Regions from separate parts of the Homo sapiens genome. Here region 1 is linked to region 2. Evidence: promoter capture Hi-C in human tissues and cell types (Jung and others, 2019). All regions are on one chromosome and are shown on one strand. Each heading gives the region's core, a stretch centred on a gene start or on the middle of the fragment in contact. The rest is flanking DNA. Distances are from core to core; before and after follow the strand shown. Region 1 has its middle 7.4 kb from the start of MIR4315-2. Region 2 holds the start of RGS9 (regulator of G protein signaling 9).

What was found. The method cuts DNA at HindIII sites, captures the fragments that hold promoters and counts their contacts. A contact is called where the count stands out against the background at its distance.
Region 1: a contact is called between a fragment that was not itself captured here and the fragment with the promoter of RGS9 in region 2, in 1 of the 25 tissues and cell types used here (hippocampus).

What each region holds. Positions count from the first base shown.
Region 1 is chr17:64,827,487-64,831,615 of GRCh38, reverse strand. It overlaps the pseudogene PLEKHM1P1. Among named protein-coding and RNA genes, the nearest start is that of MIR4315-2, 7.4 kb to the right of the region's middle. The HindIII fragment of the contact is 4,114 bases long and covers 1-3,405 here.
Region 2 is chr17:65,135,351-65,139,204 of GRCh38, reverse strand. It overlaps RGS9 (regulator of G protein signaling 9), which reads right to left and starts at 1,835. Exons shown (of 19, transcript NM_003835.4): 1 at 1,608-1,835. The coding sequence starts at 1,664. RefSeq lists a silencer at 1,646-2,145. The HindIII fragment of the contact is 16,688 bases long and covers 1-3,854 here.

The DNA.
Region 1 (4,129 bases), core at 99-2,598, 310 kb after region 2:
TCCACCATTTAGGGCCAGCCTGCCTGTCTGCTTTCCAAACCTCATGCTGCTCCAGGGCTGTCCAGGAAACCTTTCCTGCCACACTGGCCTTAATGTTCCCCTGCACCCCCTGTTCCCGGCCCCCAGCGAAAGGATCTTCCCAGACCACCCCTGGAATCCTAGCTCTGAGGTGATGGCACTGTTGATGAAAAAGCCAAACTCTGTTAAATATTCGAAGAGGTTTCTTCTGAGCCAAATGTGAGGGCCATGACCTGTGACATAGTCCTGGGAGGTCCTGAGAACATGTCCCCAAGGTGATTGGGGTACAGCTTGATTTTTATCCAAGTTACAGGCAGAAGTTACAGGCAAAGACATAAATTAATATATGTAAGGTATACATTGGTGGGGACAGGGTAAGGTGGATTAAAAGATTTCCTGATTGGCAATTGGCTGAAAAAGTTAAACTTTGCCTAAAGAGTTAAAAGTCAGCAGAAGAAAAGCTTGGGTTTAAGATAAGGTGGGTTGTGAAAGCCAAGGTTCATGTTACGTAGATGAAGCCTTCAAGAGAATAGATGGTAAATGTCTCTAAGGTGTCAGACTCTTAGTTAAATCTCCTCTAAATCAGGAAAAGGCCTAGAAAGGGAAGGGAATCTCTGCAGGACATAGATTTTCCCAACAAGAGATGGCTTTGCAGGGCCATTCCAAACTATGTCAAAAATATACTTGGGGGTAAGATACTTTGATTTCCTTAGGGCTTGTTATCTCCCATGTGATGTTAGACCAGTCAGGTTGGAGTTGGTGTCTTAATTGCTGAGAGTCTGTTCTGTCAGTCTTAGGAGTCTGTTTCAATGTTAATGCTGGTCAGTTGTGTCTAAGCTCCAAAAGGGAGAGGCTAGGATGAGGCATGGCCCACGCCCCACTTCCTGTCATGGCCTGAACTCAGTTTTCAGTTTTTTTGAAATCCCTTTGGCCAAGGGGGGCCCATTCAGGCAGTTGGGGAGCTTAGAATTTTATTTTTGGTTTACAGCACTCACTTAGGAATCGGGTTTTCCTAGGGCTGGGGTTGGCTTCCTCCTGGGGGCTGGTGGTGGAGTCAGGCCGCTTATCAGCCCTGGGACCTCAGGAACTTCCTTGACCTGGGTCAGCTGCCATTTCCTTATCTGTCAGGTGGAGACAATAAAACAGCACTCCTAGGGTCCTTAGGAGGAACATAAATTAGGCAATATATGTAAAGAGAACTGAGCCCATTTAACTTTTCTTGGTTTTGTTAACTTCTTTGTGCGGTGATTGTTTGAGAGCTGAGACAGACAGACATCACCTTTCCCGGCGTTCCCCTGATGCTCAGCCAGGAGTTGGCTAGAGATTTGTTTACGAGTGAATGTGCCTGCCTGGCCCAGGTCTGTCCAAGTTGCTGTGGTGGGGCCAAGCCAGTCAGCAGCCCCCTCAGGCTCAGGCTAAAGTCCCCACCCCACCCACCCCACCCCACCCCACCCCACCCACTCCCAGGAGGAAGCTGGCAGCCCTGAGGGATTTAACCACTCACTGACTTCAACTCTTCCTGCATACTCATTTAGGCGATGACATTCTTGGTCTGTAGGTTTAGGTGGCCACATCCACTGGGATGACAGATGCCAGGTACAACATATCAGGTACAGGCACATATCAGGCCCCGTGACAGGCATTTTACACATTCTCCTTCTGAGAGGTCTGTGCATGTCTCCCTGGTTAGTGGCAAACTGCGATGAGACCTCATGGTCATCCCGGTTAGACACGTCCCTGTCTGTGCTGCTCAAGCCAGACCCTCGAAGCCCAAATGAGGAGCAGAAGTGTAGCAAGGGAGCCCTCCCCTTTTGAAGCCGTTCCAGTGGTACTTTTTACTGCCGAGCTGGCAGATGTTGGACTGGGACAGGAGTGAGGGGTGGGGGCAGGGTGTTGCAGGACCCAGCCCCTGAATGTGATGTGTGAGCCTGTGAGCCCCTGCTTCCTGGTCCCAGTGGGTTCCTGCCACCTTCAGCTGCAGCCTCCCCCTCGAACCTGCAGCTCCGTATCTGAATCAGCCTGTCATTCCCTGCCTACAGGTTTCGATCCTACAGGGCCTTGGCTTTCTGGGCAGCATTTGATGTGAAGCGCCCTTACCACCTACTCCTTGGGGTGGACCCACCCCTGGCACCCAGGACTCCTTGCCTCCCAATGACTGAGCCCCCTGGGCTTTCCTTCCTTGTTTCTTTCCTTCAAATCTATTATCAGTTTTTACTTTTGTGTTCTTCAAAGGCCTTTTTGGTTGCAGTTTGAGTAAGAGAGGCTGACCTCCTGCTGCTTGCTGGGAATGGACTCTGGCTGGGGGGAAGTTCCCTGCCCATTCATCTGGCTGCCATCTGTCTCTTCAGGTGTCATGTGATTCTCTGAGGGAGCAGCTGCGTGAGTGGAGATGCTTTCAGTGGTGGAGAATGGACTGGACCCCCAGGCTGCCATCCCGGTAGGTGGGTGAGGGAGGATCAAGGGCGGGGAAGGGCTGCAGGGGACAGTTGTATCATCGGCTTGGCTCACTTCGAAATGAATGGGCACTGTCCTGCAAGAGAGACCAGGTTGAGAAAAAGTTATAGCACAAGCAGGCTCTGAGGAGACCCTGTCTTTTCTAGATCACCTTATTGGTGATAAGATGGAGATTTATGAAAAGCAGTGGGAATTTAAGATCAGTAACCTGAAGACCAAGGATTTCCATTCAGCCCTTCAGCCCTCTGCCCTTAGGCCATGATTTGGTCACAGTCTGGCCAAAGCACTGAATGGGTGGGAAACAGATATTCCCAGGCACTGGTTTGTTGTTTCAGTAATGGGGGTAAATTGGTAACTTACATGTATCTGAACACTTACCATTTTCTGGGATATTCTAAATGTAATTATTTGTGAGCAGTTCACTGGAGCCCCCTAGGACCTTTTCTTGGACAGCCCTTTGCACCCTCCTGGGCTATCTTGGGTACTCCAGATAGAGCTCTCTGTTCTCTTGGAGAGGTAGGAAGTCAGGTAGCTTTGGGGCTGGTGCCTTAGCAGCATCCTGAGATGGCTTTCGGGGAGAAGCCAGGATTTCCTTTCCTCCCCACTGCTGCTTCCCAGCTCAGAGAACTCTCTGCTTGAAAGAAACTGTAGCTCTCAGAGACGTGCCTTTCCCCGTCCTGGCCACAGGAGAGTCCAGCTCCACCTGTTTCCCAGCTGGCTTTCATGCAGAGGCTCTTCCCTCCCCTCTGCACCCCCACTCTCCCACCCCCAGTGCCTGCCGAATCCCACCCCAGGACCCTCCAGAGCTAGGGCAGAAGCCTGGCCAACCCAGCCTTCTAACAACAGCTGCACAAACTGACTCCATGAGGGTATGCCTTTCTTGAGGGTATGCCTTATTTCTCCCTGTATACCCTAACCCAACACCTAGTAGGTGCTCAATTGAACGAAGTATGTATGTACTTTTTAAATATAATATACAAATAACATCTTGCTTTTAAAAGAACATTTAAAATTAGACTATTTCAAGATTAAAAACTTTTGAGCTTCAAAGGATACTATCAAGAAAATGAAAAGACAACCCACAGAATGGGAGAAAATATTTGCAAATCAAATATCTGATAAGGGTCTAGTATCCAGAATGTATAAAGAACACTTATAACTCAACAATAAAAAGACAAATAATCCAGTTATAAAATGGGTAAAGGATTTGAATAGACCCTTCTCCAAAGAAGATACACACATGGCCAATAAAGATGCTCATTATCATTAGACATCAGGAAAATGCACATCGAAACCACAGTGAGATACTACTTCACACCCCCTAGGATGGCTGTAATAAAAAAGGCAATAACTAGTGCTGGCAAAAATGTGGAGAGATTGGAACTCATATATTGTTGGTGGGAATGTAAAATAGTGCAGCCACTTTGGCACACAGTTTGCCAGTTCCTTGGTAAGTTAAACATAGGGTTATGTGTACAATTCCACTCCTAGATATATACCCAAGAGAACTAGAAATATGAGTCCACTCAAAAACTTGTACATGGATGTTCATAGCAGCATTATTGATAATAGCAAAAGAGTAGAAACAACCCAAATGTCTATTAACTGATGAATGGATGAATAAAATGTGGTATATCTAGGCAGCGGAATATTTTCT
Region 2 (3,854 bases), core at 586-3,085:
GAGAAGGCTGGGGAGGAGGAGGAGGATGGGGTAGAGGAAGGGGAAGACAGGGTGGAGGAAGAGGACCTGGGGTGGAGGAGGGAAAGGTGGGGTGGAGGGGGGAGAGCTGGGGTGGAGGAGGGGAGCTGGAATGGAGGAGGGAGAGGTTAGGGTGGAGGAAGGGAGACTAAGGTGGAGGAGGGAGAGTTTGGGTGGAGGAGGGGATGCTGGGGTGGAGGAGGGGATGCTGGGGTGGAGGAGGGGTGGCTGGGGAGGAGGAGGGAAGCCTGGGGTGGAGGAGAGAAACTAGAGACCAAGACACTAGTCAGAAGACCAAGGTAAGGAGAGGAGAATCTACCAGAGAAGAGTCATGATGGAAAAGAATGCCAGAGATTCAATAAACAAACTGAATTTATCTCTTGACAATTACCCTCTGAGCCCCCAAGCCAGAGCTGTCCTGCCTGGGAGGAGACAGTCCTAGGATAAATCCTGGAAGATGATGTGTGGCTTTGAGATAGCCGACTTAGGCAGTTTCTTCTGCTTTTAGTAACTGGTATCTGCAATACAGGCTCTCAGGGTTCTTTCTGAGTGAGACAACATTCAGCCTGTCTGCTTTACAGATGATACCCACACCTCTGCTACCCGGAAGATGAGCACGAGCATCTTGAAACAGGTGGACCAAATGCGACCGTCTCGGGGTCCCCAGGACTGTCCAGGTTTTAGCATTGAAAGTCCTGGGCAAATCAGGACAGCGGTCACTGACTATACAAATTTGCTGAGCTCCAGGGGCTCAGGGAGAGCTCAGCTTGTCACAAAACATTCAACTAATTCTACTCAACAAGATAAGCCTAAGAAGATGGACACTACGCTGTGAAAAGTGGCTACGGGTGGGAGGAAGGACAAAGATGTGACCCGGGACCTAATCCTCTGTAGATCTCATCGGACAGTGATTATACCAGAAGCTCAGAACTAAATGAACCACTTTGTCCCCAAACACATCACCCCACAGGTGCATTCCACCTCCCACATGTCCATCCTGTGTGCACACCCTGTGCCCGGTCACTTTGTCTGGGAAAGCATTCGCAAGGGAAGCGAAAAGGTTGGGACTTCTGCCGCCAGCGCAGACAGCAGGAGATGCACAGATAGACACACTCAAATGAGGGCTCTCAGGGCATTGTAAATGGGGTGGCCCTTTATCCTACAAATCACCCCGTTTTCATGGTCTATGTGTACACACACACACACTTTAAAATAGTGCAGTTTGGGATCAGAAAAAAAAGGCAAAAATGGCAATGTCACATCTGGTCGTCTTACAACAATATCAGCAGGCTGTCTCAAATCTGCCACAGCCTGAACTGAACCTGCCTCTCCCGAGTAACAGGTTGTTTTCACCTCCCGCAGACCATCAGCGCTGGCTTCAGATTCTCCACTACAGGCAGGGCACACGAAAACCTAATTATTATAGCCATCAATATCGACACACACAGCAAAGAAGTCACTTAATAAAATCGAGCAGCACAAATCGACCCAAAGGGGTGCTCTCCACTCCTGCCCCTCTTGTCCTCGGACGCTTCGCAGATGCGGTCCCCCGCCCTCCTCCCAGGGTCCAGGTGAGGGGCCAGGGTTACCTTTTGGAGAAATGCCATCCTCGGCCTGTACTGCTGGCCTTGGTGTCGGATTGTCATCCTGGCCCCTGGATGGATTCACAGCCAGAGCACCAGTGGGAGACAAGAGGAGAAGCCCCCCAAGTTCGAAAGGCAGCCTGGCTCGCCCCAGCCCTGGGCGTCGACGGGGAGGCGGCTGGGCGGGGAGGGCGCGGGCCGGGCCCCCCTGACTCTCACTAGGCGCCGCTGACTTGGAAAGCAGCTGGAATCCGCGCCAGCCAATCCGCGAGCGGCGCCGCGGGCTCATTAGCATGCGCTGCGCGGGCGCCCACCTGCCGCCAGGGGGCGCTATCCGGCCCCCGCCGGGACCCCGCGGAGCAGCAGGTGAGACCCGCAGGGCAGGGCCCCGGGAGGAGAAGGAGGAGGAGGACCTGGCGGGAGGAGGAGGAGGACCTAGCGGGAGGAGGAGGAGGACCTGTCGAGAGCAGCGAGCCTTTTAACTTGGGGCGGAGTTATGCACAGAAGTGACACAAAGAGCCCTCACTAATACAGCGCGGTGGAAAATACGGACTTTCCCATCCCAGCTCTGCCACTAACCAGCCGGCAGCCTTGGGCAAGTTCCTTACAATCTCTAAGAATCAATGTCCTTCACTCAAAAGTAAAAATTGAAAAATGGGATCATAATATCGACCAGAAAAGGTTGCTATACCATTTTAATGAGGAGATGTGTAACACAGTGCTTGGCCCTCAATAAATGCTTAGAAAAAAAAATTAGAGGTGGCGATTTAATGACCCAATAGCAGAGGAATTGCTAAGATGTGGGTTTAAAAAGAGAGAGCAAAGAAGTGAAGAAGGAAGAGAGGAAGGTTGTAGTCCTCACCGGGCTAGCTGTCTGGATGAAGCGAATTATATTTTACTTCTCTGATTCTTAGTGTTTCGGTTAGTTGGTTGTTGGGTTTGTTGTTGTTTAACTTTTTTTTTGAGACAGGGTCTTGCTCTGTCACCCAGGCTGGAGTGCAGTGGCGTAATCATGGCTCATTGCAGCTACAACCTCCCAGGCTCAAACAATCCTCCCACCTCAGCCTCCCCAGTAGCTGGGGCTACAGGCACGTGCCACCACACCCCGCTAATTTTTACAAAAATTGTTTGTGGAGAGGGAGTTTCACAAACTCCTGGGCTCAATCGATCTACCCACCTCGGCCTCCCAAAGTGCTGGAATTACAGGAGTGAGCCACTGCAGCTGGCTGGTTTGCTTGTTTTAATAGACTTTATTTCTTAGAGCAGTTTTAGGTTCACAGCACAATTGAGCGGAAGGTATAGGGACACGTCATATATCCCCTCTCCCCACGCACGCACAGCGTCCCCCATGATCAACATCCTCCACTGGAGTGGCCCATTTGTTACAATTGATGAACCTACCTTGACAGCTCATTATGTTAGCGTTTTCATCTTGAGAAAAATGCAAGGATGAAGCCTCTAAGTTATTATCAAGAGCCTTTCTGCTTTGTTATATAAAGCACTTTCTCTTAAACATACTCGATGGTTATTGAGTGTAGCAGATAAAATGTTTAAGTTGGAAGAAAACAAGAAGGCCTTTACCTTAGGAAGGCACAGTCAACCAATGTCCCTTTAAAGCAGTGGTTCTTGGCTGGGTGTGATGGCTCACGCCTATAATTCCAGCACTTTGGGAGGCCCAAGCGGGTGAATCACTTGAAGTCAGGAGTTCAAGACCAGCCTGGCCAACATGGCAAAACCCTATCTCTATTAAAAATACAGAAATCAATCAGCATGGTGGAGCAACCTGTAATCCCAGCTACTCAGGAGGCTGAGGCACAAGAATCACTTGAACCCAGAGGCTGCAGTGAGCCAAGACTGAGCCACTGCATTCCAGCCTGGGTGACAGAGTGAGACTCTGTCTCAAAAAAAAAAAAAAGCAGTGGTTCTTATCCATTCTCTCGGGTGATATTTACCTGTAAGAATCTGATGAAAGCTATGGACACTCAGGAACACACACACATGCACATGTACACAACACTGACTGAAGTTTGCAAACAATTTCAAGAGGTTCATGCTTGGGCCTCTCTTGTGCCTTTTCAGGAATCCCTGATTCAGAGCCTCCAATTTAGAGGACGCTGGACCCTGCAGAGATCCATCCAAGCAGAAGACCAGAGATCCTGCCAAGCAAATTGAACCACTGAGAAGTATGCTCCTGGTGTGAGCTGAGATCCAAAGAAAATGCTGGAATATCTTGATTTTTTTTCTCATGAAGCA